Linked DNA regions of Homo sapiens: regions 1 and 3 are each linked to region 2. Evidence: promoter capture Hi-C in 16 types of primary human blood cells and fetal thymus (Javierre and others, 2016). All regions are on one chromosome and are shown on one strand. Each heading gives the region's core, a stretch centred on a gene start or on the middle of the fragment in contact. The rest is flanking DNA. Distances are from core to core; before and after follow the strand shown.

Region 1 (3,660 bases), core at 1,135-3,634, 190 kb after region 2:
CCTCCCGGGTTCAAGCGATTCTCCTGCTTCAGCCTCCCCAGTAGCTGGAACTACAGGCGCCCTCCACCACGCCCAGCTAATTTTTATATTTTTAATAGAGATGGGGTTTCACCATGTTGGCCAGGATGGTCTCGATCTATTGACCTCGTGATCTGCCCGCCTCGGCCTCCCAAAGTGCTGGGATTACAGGCGCGAGCCACCGCGCCCGGCCGGCTCCTCTTATGCATTCTAAAGTTTGTGACCTACTGTTTCCTGACCCATCCTGATTAGTCCTGGGCTTTTAATTGTGCATATCTGCACAATTAAATCTTAATTGGTATTAATTTGGTAGTAGATTCTAATACTGTACTTTTTTCTCCTTTTCATGATGGGTAATAAGTGAGCAAGCAGCACTTGCGAAGCGCAGTTTCAAGTGAAGGATGCATCTGTGATGCAAAATCATCGACCATTTATTTGTAATGGTGTGTATGTAACCTTCACCAAGGTATTTTACTGGGGCTAGTGCTTTTACAGGCATTTCCAACTTTGTAGATTGCTACCTCTGGATCTGAGAAACTGCAGCTAAAGTGAAGTCGGCTTTAATACTGTTTCATGGATTCATTGGTACACCCTCCCACCGTGTTTATTTGTATTTTGCAATTGTTTGAGATTATTGTTTTGGTTTTTTGCACTAAGCAATTGCTTGGTTAATCCTAAACAACCACAGTGATGAGGAAAGCATGTGATTGTAACTAACTGCCTAGGGTGAGTACCTTTCAGTGAGGGTTTGATTTCAGTGTTAGCCAGAGAAGGCACTAGTAGCCATATTATTAGAAGATTGTAGTAAATTGTAAAGTCTGATCGGGAGTTTTGTTATTTTTTATGTAGCAAGACAGAAATTTTGTAGTTCAAATTGAGGTTTTTATATTCTAGATCTCAACCTGAAAATGAAATTACTTAATCATTAACACTGATTCTAATATCTGAAATGAGTTTTCTTCCATTTATCAAACTCAAGCCTACCCTTCCTTCCATGAAGGTTTAACATGAAGGTTTAATAATTTATGAAGGAAATTGAACTATGTTCTTTTCTAAAATCTTTGGAATGTTAGCAGATACTGTCATTGACACTGAAAAGTTGTTTAGAAAAGGAAAAATAGCTAAAGCTTCTGTCCACATTTTTTACTTGTATACTTTTTCTTTTTGCTTTAAAAATGTTCAGAATTTGGGAGCAAAAATTGAAAGCAAAAAACTAGTAATTATAATGCATGATGGCATCTATTAATATGTATTTTACTAGTTTTCATTCAGAGTCACCAAAATGTTCATAGTAACTTACTATGTTACTATGGAGTAAGATAGAAAAGCATTTTCTACCCTGCTCCCTGCCCCCCCCCCTTTTTTTTTTTGAGACAGAGTCTAGCTCTGTCACCCAGGCTGGAGTGTAGTGGCATGATCTTGGCTCACTGCAACCTCCACCTCCTGGCCTCAGCGTCCCGAGTAATTGGGATTGCAGGTGTGGGCCACCACGCCCGGCTAATTTTTGTATTTTTAGTCGACAGGGTTTTGCCATATTGGCCAGGCTGGTCTTGAACTCCTGACCTCAAGTGATCGGTCCGCCTCAGTCTCCCAAAGTGCTGAGGTTACAGGCGTGAGCCACTGCGCCCGGCTGGCATTTCCTACCTTACTCCATAGTAAAATAGTAAGTGTTGGCTTCTCAGAATTGCCAGCAGTCCATGTGTTATATGTGTATGTAATTGCTATTTGCTTTTCTTCCCAAAACATACAGAATTAGAGTGAATAGTATAATAAATTGAACTCCCCATGTACCCATGCCCAATTTAGCAATATTAGCACATAGTCAATATTATTTCCTCTGTATCCCTTCCATTATTTTGAAGCAATTCTGTTATTGTCAACCTTAAAGCGGTCATTGTATATCTGTAAAATACAAGGACTTTAAAAAAAAAACATAGCCGACCGGGCATGGTGGGTCACCTGTAATCTCAACATTGGGAGGCCAAGGCAGGCAGATCACTTGAGGCCAGGAGTTCGAGACCAGCCTGGCCAACATGGTGAAACCCTGTCTCTAATAAAAAATAAAAAAATTAGCTGGGCGTAGTGGTGCATTCCTGTAATCCCAGCTACTCTGGAGGTTGAGGCAGGAGGATCCTTTCAACCCAGGAGGCAGAGGTTGCAGTGAGCCGAGATGGTGCCACCACAGTCCAGCCTGGGCAACAGAGTGACACTCTGTCTCAAAAAAAAAATAGAATAAAATAACCACAATACCATAATCACTGAAAATTATAGTAAGGTATTTCGTAAATCTTTGGTTGCTTTAGGAAAATTGTGTGTGTGTGTGTGTGTGTGTGTGTGTGTGTGTCATTATATATGTTATTAGCCTTGATTTCCTCACAAAAGGAGAAGGTAGCTTAAGTTTGTAAATTTGACTTTTTTGCTAATACAGTTCTTCGTTTTATGAAATATTTTCTCTTTTTTTTTTTTTTTTTACCCCCGAGATGGAGTCTTGCTCTGTTGCCCAGGTTGGAGTGCAGTGGTGTGATCTCAGCTCACTGCAACCTCCACCTCCCGGGTTCAAGCGATTCTCCTGCCTCAGCCTCCAGAGTAGGTGGAATTACAGGTGCATGCCACCATGCCTGACTAATTTTTGTGTTGTTGTAGAGATGGGGTTTCACCATGTTTGCCGGGCTGGTCTTGAACTTTTGACAACAAGTGATCCTCCCTCGGCCTCCCAAAGTGCTGGGATTACAGGGGTGAGCCACCATGCCCAGCCTTTCTCTTCATTTCTTATAGTAAGTTAGGAAAATTGTTGTATTCATTTATCCAACAAAAATGTATTGCTCGGCTGGGAGCGGTGGCTCACGCCTGTAATCCTAGCACTTTGCGAGGCTGAGGCGGGTGGATCACCTGAGCTCAGGAGTTTGAGACCAGCCTGGCCAACATGGCGAAACCCTGTCTCTACTAAAAATACAAAAATTAGCCAGGTGTGGTGGCGCACGCCTGTAATCCCAGCTACTCGGGAGGCTGAGGAAGGAGAATCGCTTGAACCCGGGAGGTGGAGGTTGCAGTGAGCCGAGATCACGCCACTGCATTCCAGCCTGCGTGACAGGAGCAAGACTCCATTTCAAAAAAAAAATTAAAAGTATTGCTCTTAGGTAGATAACAGCAGGATAGTACAGATACAGCACTTGGTCCTAAAGAGCCATCATGTATTGGTGACAGTAAATGCACTTTTTTTTTCCAATGGGGATTATTCCAATTGAATGTAAACGCATTTCCATAACAGAATATGATAAATCCTACCATTGGGAAAAGTAAAATTGACCCTTGAACAACACGGGTTTGAGTTGAGTGTGTCCATTTATACGTGGAGTTTTTTCAATAAATATATTGGAACATTTTTTGGAGATTTGCAACAATTTGAAAAAACTTGAAGACGAATCACATAGCTTAGAAATATTTTTAAAATTTAAGAAAAGATAAGTACATCACAAATACATAAAATAGATGTATATACTAGTTTATCATTTTCCTACCACAAAATACATACGAATCATAAAAAGTTAAACTTTATAAAAACTTATGCACACAGTACATGGTGCCACTAGCAGTCCAGAGAAAGTAAAGCTTGAGTAATAACTGCATAAAATTAACTATAGT
Region 2 (4,044 bases), core at 33-2,532:
GAAAACGGGTTAATAAATAAATCAATAAAGAACCTTCAAGTTTCTACTACTTCCGTGTGCCTCTGTGTCTTGCATGATGGATCTTGGCTAGGTCAGCTCCTGATCCAGGTCCTCCCATGTTCCACCTGCCCTCAGATCCCCTCCTGCCAGCTGCCAGAGCCCTCCTGCAGGAGGACAGACAGACATAGCTGGGGAAGTGATGTGTGGGATGCCAAGCAGAGGAGCAGATTGGTAGCAAGACAAGGAGTCAGGTGACAGGACAGTGTGTCACCTCTGGTAGTCCCTGCCTCTGGCTTCCTTGGCCCACACTTTCAGGGTCGTGCTTCCTGGAGCCAGGTCTTCCCGAAGTGTCATCACCAAGTATGACAAAGTGTGAGATGAGGAGTAGAACTAGACCCATGGGACCTGGCTCCCTGCCATCTCCCCTCTTCAGCTGGGTCCCAGGGCCCCAATTCAGTCCCTGAAGATCATGCTCACCACACCTCTTCAGCTCTAGAGGCCACATCACCTTGTTATTTCGGGGTCTAGTCTGCCTTATCCCCCTCCTCATCTCAAACTATCTGGCCTTGAGCCATCTTTCTGCCTTAAAAACAGCTGCTGATCTTCATGCTACCTCCCTTGCTCAGGGGAACATGAAACAGGCTAGAAATGGCTCTCAGAAAAAAAGGTATTGTCAGCTCAAACTCAGGCCCCTCATTGTCTTCTGTCAGTCATAACCATTTGGGGCTGGGCTCCCTGTGTGAAGAGCACTCCAGGCTCCCAGAGTTTGAAGAACAACTTTGGTTTTTGGGTGGGTGGGCATCCTTAAGTGGGCCTCAGGCATCCTCCAGCTGAGATGCAGGAGGGGGAGGATGGACAGAAGGATCTGACTCCGTGTGGGAAAGGCAGGGAGGGGGCTGTGCTGGAGTCCTGATGCTCTCCTCCCCAAGAAGACGAGAAGACGGGGGCTCCACCAAAGAGCCAGCCCCAGGGAATGTCCCTGCCCTCTCCTTTAATGTCCTCCCGGCCCAGAGGAGGAAGGGGAGGGGTGTGGTGGGGGTGTTGGAGCCCCCCTCCTTTCCTGTTGAAGAGGCAGGGGAAGGGTTAACTCAAAGCAGAGGGGATCAGGTCGCCAGCACTGGCTCCAGATGTGCACTTCCTGGGGGCGGCCAACAGGCAGGCCCCCCACCTCTCAATGCACCACTTGCCTGGCCAGCAGGAAGGGGTTAACCTGCCCTGCACTTCCTCCTGTGTCCTGTTACTGCTGAGGCAGACCTGCCGGGCCAGCTGAGCAACTTTCCTCGGAGTGCTGCCTGGCGCTGGCTAGGAGGCAAACGCACGCGGGAAGAGCTGCTACCCATTCCAGGGACCCTGCCGCTGCCCCTCTGAGGGGTCTGCACCTCCTGGGAGCAGGTGGGTCTCTGGGACGAGGGTCCATGGTGGATGGCTCTGGAGACGCTCCCGAGGCTGTGCCGTCCCGCTGCTGCACAGGTCGGAGGGTCACCGCAGAGGCTACTCGGGCTGGGGCTGGGGCCGAGGGAGCCCGCACTGGAGGTAAGCTTCCTCCCTGGCCCCCTCCCTGGCAGTGGCGGCATGGAAGGCGGGGGTTGGTGGGGAGCAAACAGTGGTTCTGGGGCTTAGTCTCTTTTCCAGGTGCGAGGGAGAAGGCTGAGCTGTAGAGGACCTAAAGGCTTCTTTCCTGCCACCCCTCCCTCCCTGCCGCCCCCAAAAAGGGACTCAGGGCCCCCTCCCCAACCATCCTGGGACTTAGCATCTTTGGTGGCATCTTAGCATCTTTGGTGGCATTCCCCACAGACTCCTTCTGCACATCTCTGCTGTTTCCTCTTCTTCAGCCCCTCATGCACACCTCTAGCCTCAGGGCAGTCCCCCCTCCCCCATCTTCTGTGCTCCCGGGATGCAGCTATTACAGTGGCCAGAAGCTTAGAGTTCAAGCTCACCCCCTGTCCCTTACAGCATCAAGAAGGGCACTGTCATTCCCCACTGCTCAGGCTGGATCTGACTTGGAGGCAGGGGCTGGAGCCCACCTTAGCAGAGGACGGGAAGAGGGTGTGGGCTGGGCTGGTGGGTGCACAGACTTTACGCAAACTCATGCACGTGTGACTGGACAGATCTGGGTTCTCTCCATCTCTCCGAAACCCTTGCTGGGGATGAGCGATCTGCATTTTTCGGTCCTGACTTTTGGGAAACTCTCCAGATCCCCCCATCCTGCAGGCCCTGAGAAGAGCAGCCCCTCCCTACTGCGCAGTTCTCCTTGGGACCCTGTATGCAGGAGAGAGCTGATACTCCGTGCCCCGTGGCCCATCCCACCGCCTGCTGGCCCTGCTCCCATCCCCTCAGCTTCCTCCCTCCTCTGCCCTCTCGTCATCTCTGAATTCTCAGGCCCTGCCCTCTCTGTGCCCTTCCCTCCACCTGACAGGGTCTGGCTCAAGGTCACTGCAGTAATTCCATACCCAGCTGCCCAGGGCTGCTGCTGCTACCGCCACCGCCTTATCGGCCGCTGGGTTTCTGTTACACTCCCTTTTATTTCTGGGCATATCGTGTTCGATAAAACCCTTTGCTTGTAACACTGCTGGCAGCGCTCCCAGCTGCTCCCTCCCGCGTTCCCGCGTTCCTTCCTTTCCTCCTCCCTTCTCTGCGCTTGGGCAGGCTTCTTCCTTTCCTCCTCCCTTCTCTGCGCTTGGGCAGGCTTCTTCCTTTCCTCCTCCCTTCTCTGTGCTTGGGCAGCCTCACCTTGTCCCCTCAAACTCCAGAGAAGGAAAATCAAGGTGCCTCCCCATGTTTCTGGCCCCGCCCTTCCCCCCAGCCCCTGCAGGGGTGTGCAGAGAATGCCCACCTTCTGTGAGAAAGGTCCAGGCAGGGCCGCTGGGCCCACACCGAGAGTCCCCTCCCAGAGGCTGGTGCCCCCACACAGGCCAGGCCGGAGGGCCAGGGCAGCCAGGTCCAGGTAGGGCTCTGGTGCAGTCACAGTGCCCGACTGGTTCTGCTAGTTCCAGCGGCCAGCCGGTAGGGGCGTGTGCTGGGCGGGCTTTGGTGCACATTATTTCCCATCTTGACTCTGCCACCCCCAGCCACGGGTTGGGGAGGTGAAGGCAGGTCTGAGTCACTAGCAAGGGGGAGGGCAGGAGTTAAACAAGTTGTGGCCGTGGCATTCCCACAGAAGGCCCACGACCCGCTGGAAGGAAAGAGATAGCAGACAAAAGGTAGGCTGCGCTGTGGGCCAGGCACTCTCCACCTCGCCCACTCCCACGGTATCTTATTCTCTGGGCCCCCAACAAAACCTGCCAAGGCATGTTTTCAAAGCGTGGGGCTGCTTTGAACTGAGCCCAGCACTGGCGGGGCTGGGGTGGAAGGAGCGTGGAATCGGGTGCGAGAGGACAGTCTCCTTCAGATTCCTGCTTCTGGCAGCCTGGGGACCAGTTGGGGCACGGGCTGGGATGGAGGGTGGAGCCGAAAGGTGTTTGGTGGGTGGGGGACAGTTCACGGGTGAAGTGGAGGCTCTGCAGGCCCAGACAGTGTGTGTGTGCATGCACACACCAGTGCTAGTGTGGGAGGAATGGTGGTGGTCAGGGAATTCCTCTTTTGGTTTCTGAAAGGGCCTTTGGGAGGACCTTGGGCCTGGAGTTGTATTCAGCAGATAGCCTGGACCTGTGGCTACTGGGGGGAATTGGGCTGGCCCAGCTCTTCTCCCTGCTGGGGTACCAGAGGTCCACTATGTGTCCAGCGTTTTGGGGCTTTGGAGAACCCAGACTGTTCCTACTCTCAGGGAGCTTCCATTCTAGCTGAGAAGGTGGGACTGAGACAGTAAAGCAATCCGATGAAATAATGACCAAACTGGGTAACACTGACAATAAGAATTGGATTAGTCTTCTGGAGTCCTGGATGGTAGTCCAGGCTCTGCCACTTACGTGCCATATGATGCAGGCAGGTCCCATCCCCTCTCTGGCCTCAACACTTCCATGTGTACGTGGGGGTGGCATGCAGGAGTGTTGGCAGTGGCCAGAACTCTGAGGGGCAGTCTTCCTCAAACGATACTTGCTCTCTTGC
Region 3 (3,731 bases), core at 102-2,601, 130 kb after region 2:
AGAACGAGGTGAAGGCAGAGTGGAGCCAGGAGGTCGTGGTCTTGAGGCAGTACTGGGTTGACCCTCCCTGGCCCAAGAGGTTGGAGGGGGTGGAGGTTTCAGAGGCCAGGGGTGCAGTGGAGACTGCGGGTAAAAGCAAAGGGCAGCAGAGGAGGGAGCAGCCATGGGGGCAGCACTGCCCACCTCACTCCTCTCTCCTCCCCACAGCATCCTGATCAGGTTTATCTCCAACCCCATGGCCCCCTCCTGGTGGGGCTTCCTGGTGGCTGGGCTGATGTTCCTGTGCTCCATGATGCAGTCGCTGATCTTACAACACTATTACCACTACATCTTTGTGACTGGGGTGAAGTTTCGTACTGGGATCATGGGTGTCATCTACAGGAAGGTCAGCTGGAGCAGGGCCCAGGGGAAAGGCTGGCCCTGGGCAGCTTGCAAGAGGCTCGCAGCCAAGTCCACCCACTACTGTCTACCTGCAGGCTCTGGTTATCACCAACTCAGTCAAACGTGCGTCCACTGTGGGGGAAATTGTCAACCTCATGTCAGTGGATGCCCAGCGCTTCATGGACCTTGCCCCCTTCCTCAATCTGCTGTGGTCAGCACCCCTGCAGATCATCCTGGCGATCTACTTCCTCTGGCAGGTGACTCTCCAACCCTGACCTCTGCCTCCTTCCTCTGACATGCTGCAGAAGTGGCAAGAGAGGATTATTCTGGAACTGGGAGCATGGCACATGCTTGTAGTCCCAGCTGCTCAGGCGGCTGAGGCAAGAGGATCACTTGAGCCCAAGAGTTCTGGCTGCAGTGCGCCACGATTGTGCCTGCGAATAGCCACCACACTCCAGCCTGGGCAACATAGCAAGACCTTGTCTCTAAAAAGAAACAAAGAAAACAGAAAAAAAGAAGGAGGGTTATTCTGGGTTAGCAGAGGGGATATAGAATTGACACAAGAGCTGGCTGGGCACGGTGGCTCACGCCTGTAATCCCAGCATTTTGGGAGACCAAGGCGGGTGGATCACGAGGTCAGGAGTTCGAGACCAGCCCGGCCAGGATGGTGAAACCCCATCTCTACTAAAAATACAAAAATTAGCCAGACGTGGTGGCGGGTGCCTGTAGTCACAGCTACTCAGGAGGCTGAGGCAGGAGAATCGCTTGAACCCAGGAGGCAGAGGTTGCAGTGAGCCGAGATCATACCACTGCACTCTAGCCTGGGTGACAGAGCAAGACTCTGTCTCAAAAAAAAAAAAAAAAAAAAAAAAAGAATTGACACAAGAGCTTCCCTAGGCATTGGTGGGGATGGAGGGATAGGACTTCGAGGATGCTGATGTCTGCAAAGGAATCTTCCCAACATCTGTTGCTATCCTTCCTGCAGAAGCCAGGGAGGAAAGAAAGTCTTGGAGGGAGGTGGGTGTGACTCTGGCTGTCATCGTCTATATTTGCCTTCCTGTGTGTCTGGACACCCTTCTATATCTGCTGTCTGTCCCTGTCGTCGTTATCTAATGGCTGGCTGCTTCTACAAATGTTGTGGTCATTCTGACTTTCTATCTGTTTGGCCAACCACCATCTTTTGCTTCCTGCCCATCTACACATTTCAAGTTAACAGGCCTCTGTTTGCCTGTTGGGTTCTCTCTGTAGACTTTGGTAATCTGTCCCTATGTGTCATCTATCCACCGGTGCCTCCTCAGAACCTAGGTCCCTCTGTCCTGGCTGGAGTCGCTTTCATGGTCTTGCTGATTCCACTCAACGGAGCTGTGGCCGTGAAGATGCGCGCCTTCCAGGTAGGTGCTGTCAGAGGTGCATCCTCCTGCCTGCAGCACCCGGCCGGCTGCCTGGGGGAAGGTGTCCACTAACCTTGGGGCCTCCCAACTACCTTGCTTCCTGAGTATGGATGGCTACTAGCCATTTGCAGAAACCATAGCTCACTCTTCCCTCACAGCTCTCAGAGGGTTTTACTGACATTCTCATTTTGTAGCAGAAGACCAACGCTTAGAGAAATAATGGCAGTCCAGAATCAGGCAGGGCTGGGACTCAAACCTGACTATCCTGGTCTAACAAGGAGTTTTCCCGCTGCACTGTGCTAAGCATGAATAGCCAGTCACTCAGTCTACTATTTGCAAACATTTCTTGAAGTGTTTTTTTTCTTTTTTTTTTTTTTTGAGACAGGGTCTCGTTCTGTCACCCATGCTGGAATGCAGTGGCATGATCTCGGCTCACTGCAACCTCTGCCTCCCGGGTTCAAGCGATCTTCCTGCCTCAGCCTCCCTAGTAGCTGGGACTACAGGCACATGCCACCACACCCGGCTTATTTTTGTATTTTTTTTTTTAGTAGAGATGGGGTTTCACCATGTTGGCCAGGCTGGTCTCAAACTCCTGACCTCAGGTGATCCGTTCATCTTAGCCTCCCAAAGTGCTGGGATTACAGGTGTGAGCCATCACACCTGGCCTATTGAAGTCTACTAGCTTCCCACTGCCCATAGGAAAAATGACAAACCCCCTAAGAAGACTCAGCAGGCTTCTGCTTACCTTGCAAGTCCTCACCCCCTGCGGACTGGCCAAGTTTCAGCCAGTCTGGTCTTCTTTCTTTTCTCCACAGCACCAAGCTCAGGGTACCTCTAGGGGCCACCACATATACTATTCCCTCTGCCTGGAATGCTTGTCATCCCCCTCTTGCCTGCCTAACTCCTTTCCTTCCCTTACCTCTCGGCATTGAAGTCACTTCCTCGGCTGGGCACGGTGGCTCATGCCTGTAATCCCAGAGCTTTGGGAGGCCGAGGCAGGTGGATCACCTGAGGTTGGGAGATCGAGACCAGCCAGACCAACATGGAGAAACCCCGTCTCTACTAAAAATACAAAATTAGCCGGGCATGGTGGCACATGCCTGTAATCCCAGCTACTCTGGAGTCTGAGGCAGGAGAATCCCTTGAATCCAGGAGGCAGAGGTTGCGGTGAGCCAAGATCGCGCCATTGCACTCCCACCTGGGCAACAAGAGCGAAACTCCGTCTCAAAAAAAAAAGTCACTTCCTCCAGAAGTCCACCCTGACTGCCCAGTCTCAGTCTAAGTTAGTTTCCCTGCCATCACCTCATTACTTTCTTACAGGATCCTGTGATTTCCCATCAGAACACACATAATGATTAATAATTAAGCATTTATTCAGATCATTGTTTGCTTATTGTATGCCTCCCCCATCAGATCGTCAGCTGTATCATGGCAGGGGCCTTGTCTGAATTCATCGTGACAAATTCTACACGTAGCCCATGGCCTGGCACATAGTAGGCACTCCATAAATAGGGGTTGAATGAATACATTAATCTGGTGTGCCACACCTTGGGCTAAGGTCTTGGAGAACAAAGAGAAATAAATAGTCCATCCCCTCAGGAAGCTCACAGTCTGATTAGAGAAACATATATGTAAAGGAATGGTTATGGAACAAAAGGAAAGTGCAATGTGCTTTAGAAACCCAGGGAAGGGGACCAGGTGTGGTGGCTCACACCTGTAATCCCAGCACTTGGGGAGGCCAAGGTGGGAGGATCACATGAGGCCAGGAGTTTGAAATCAGCCTGGGCAACAGAGTGAGACCTCGTCCCTACAAAAAAATTTAAAAATTAGCTGGGCATGGTTGTTCATGCCTGTAGTTCCAGCTAGTCAGGAGGCTGAGACAGGAGGATCAAAGGAGCCCAGGAGTTTGAGGCTGCAGTGAGCTATGATTGTACCACTGCAGTCCAGCCTGGGCAACAC

The links. Contacts are between HindIII fragments. The CHiCAGO score rates a contact against its expected background, and 5 or more counts as called.
Region 1: a contact is called between a fragment that was not itself captured here and the fragment with the promoter of EPN3 in region 2, in 6 of 17 cell types (endothelial precursors, M2 macrophages, M1 macrophages and 3 more). The highest score is 9.1, in endothelial precursors.
Region 3: a contact is called between a fragment that was not itself captured here and the fragment with the promoter of EPN3 in region 2, in 5 of 17 cell types (megakaryocytes, M1 macrophages, M0 macrophages and 2 more). The highest score is 7.0, in megakaryocytes.

What each region holds. Positions count from the first base shown.
Region 1 is chr17:50,722,285-50,725,944 of GRCh38, forward strand. All of the region lies in intron 1 of LUC7L3 (LUC7 like 3 pre-mRNA splicing factor), which reads left to right. Among named protein-coding and RNA genes, the nearest start is that of LUC7L3, 4.5 kb to the left of the region's middle. RefSeq lists an enhancer at 2,652-3,151. The HindIII fragment of the contact is 2,482 bases long and covers 1,144-3,625 here.
Region 2 is chr17:50,531,453-50,535,496 of GRCh38, forward strand. It overlaps EPN3 (epsin 3), which reads left to right and starts at 1,283. Exons shown (of 10, transcript NM_017957.3): 1 at 1,283-1,533. MYCBPAP (MYCBP associated protein) reads left to right here. Exons shown (of 19, transcript NM_032133.6): 19 at 1-49. RefSeq lists enhancers at 2,149-2,825, 2,826-3,502. The HindIII fragment of the contact is 5,271 bases long and covers 1-1,536 here.
Region 3 is chr17:50,663,474-50,667,204 of GRCh38, forward strand. It overlaps ABCC3 (ATP binding cassette subfamily C member 3), which reads left to right. Exons shown (of 31, transcript NM_003786.4): 9 at 208-385; 10 at 477-638; 11 at 1,680-1,772. Among named protein-coding and RNA genes, the nearest start is that of ABCC3, 30 kb to the left of the region's middle. The HindIII fragment of the contact is 7,512 bases long and covers 1-3,731 here.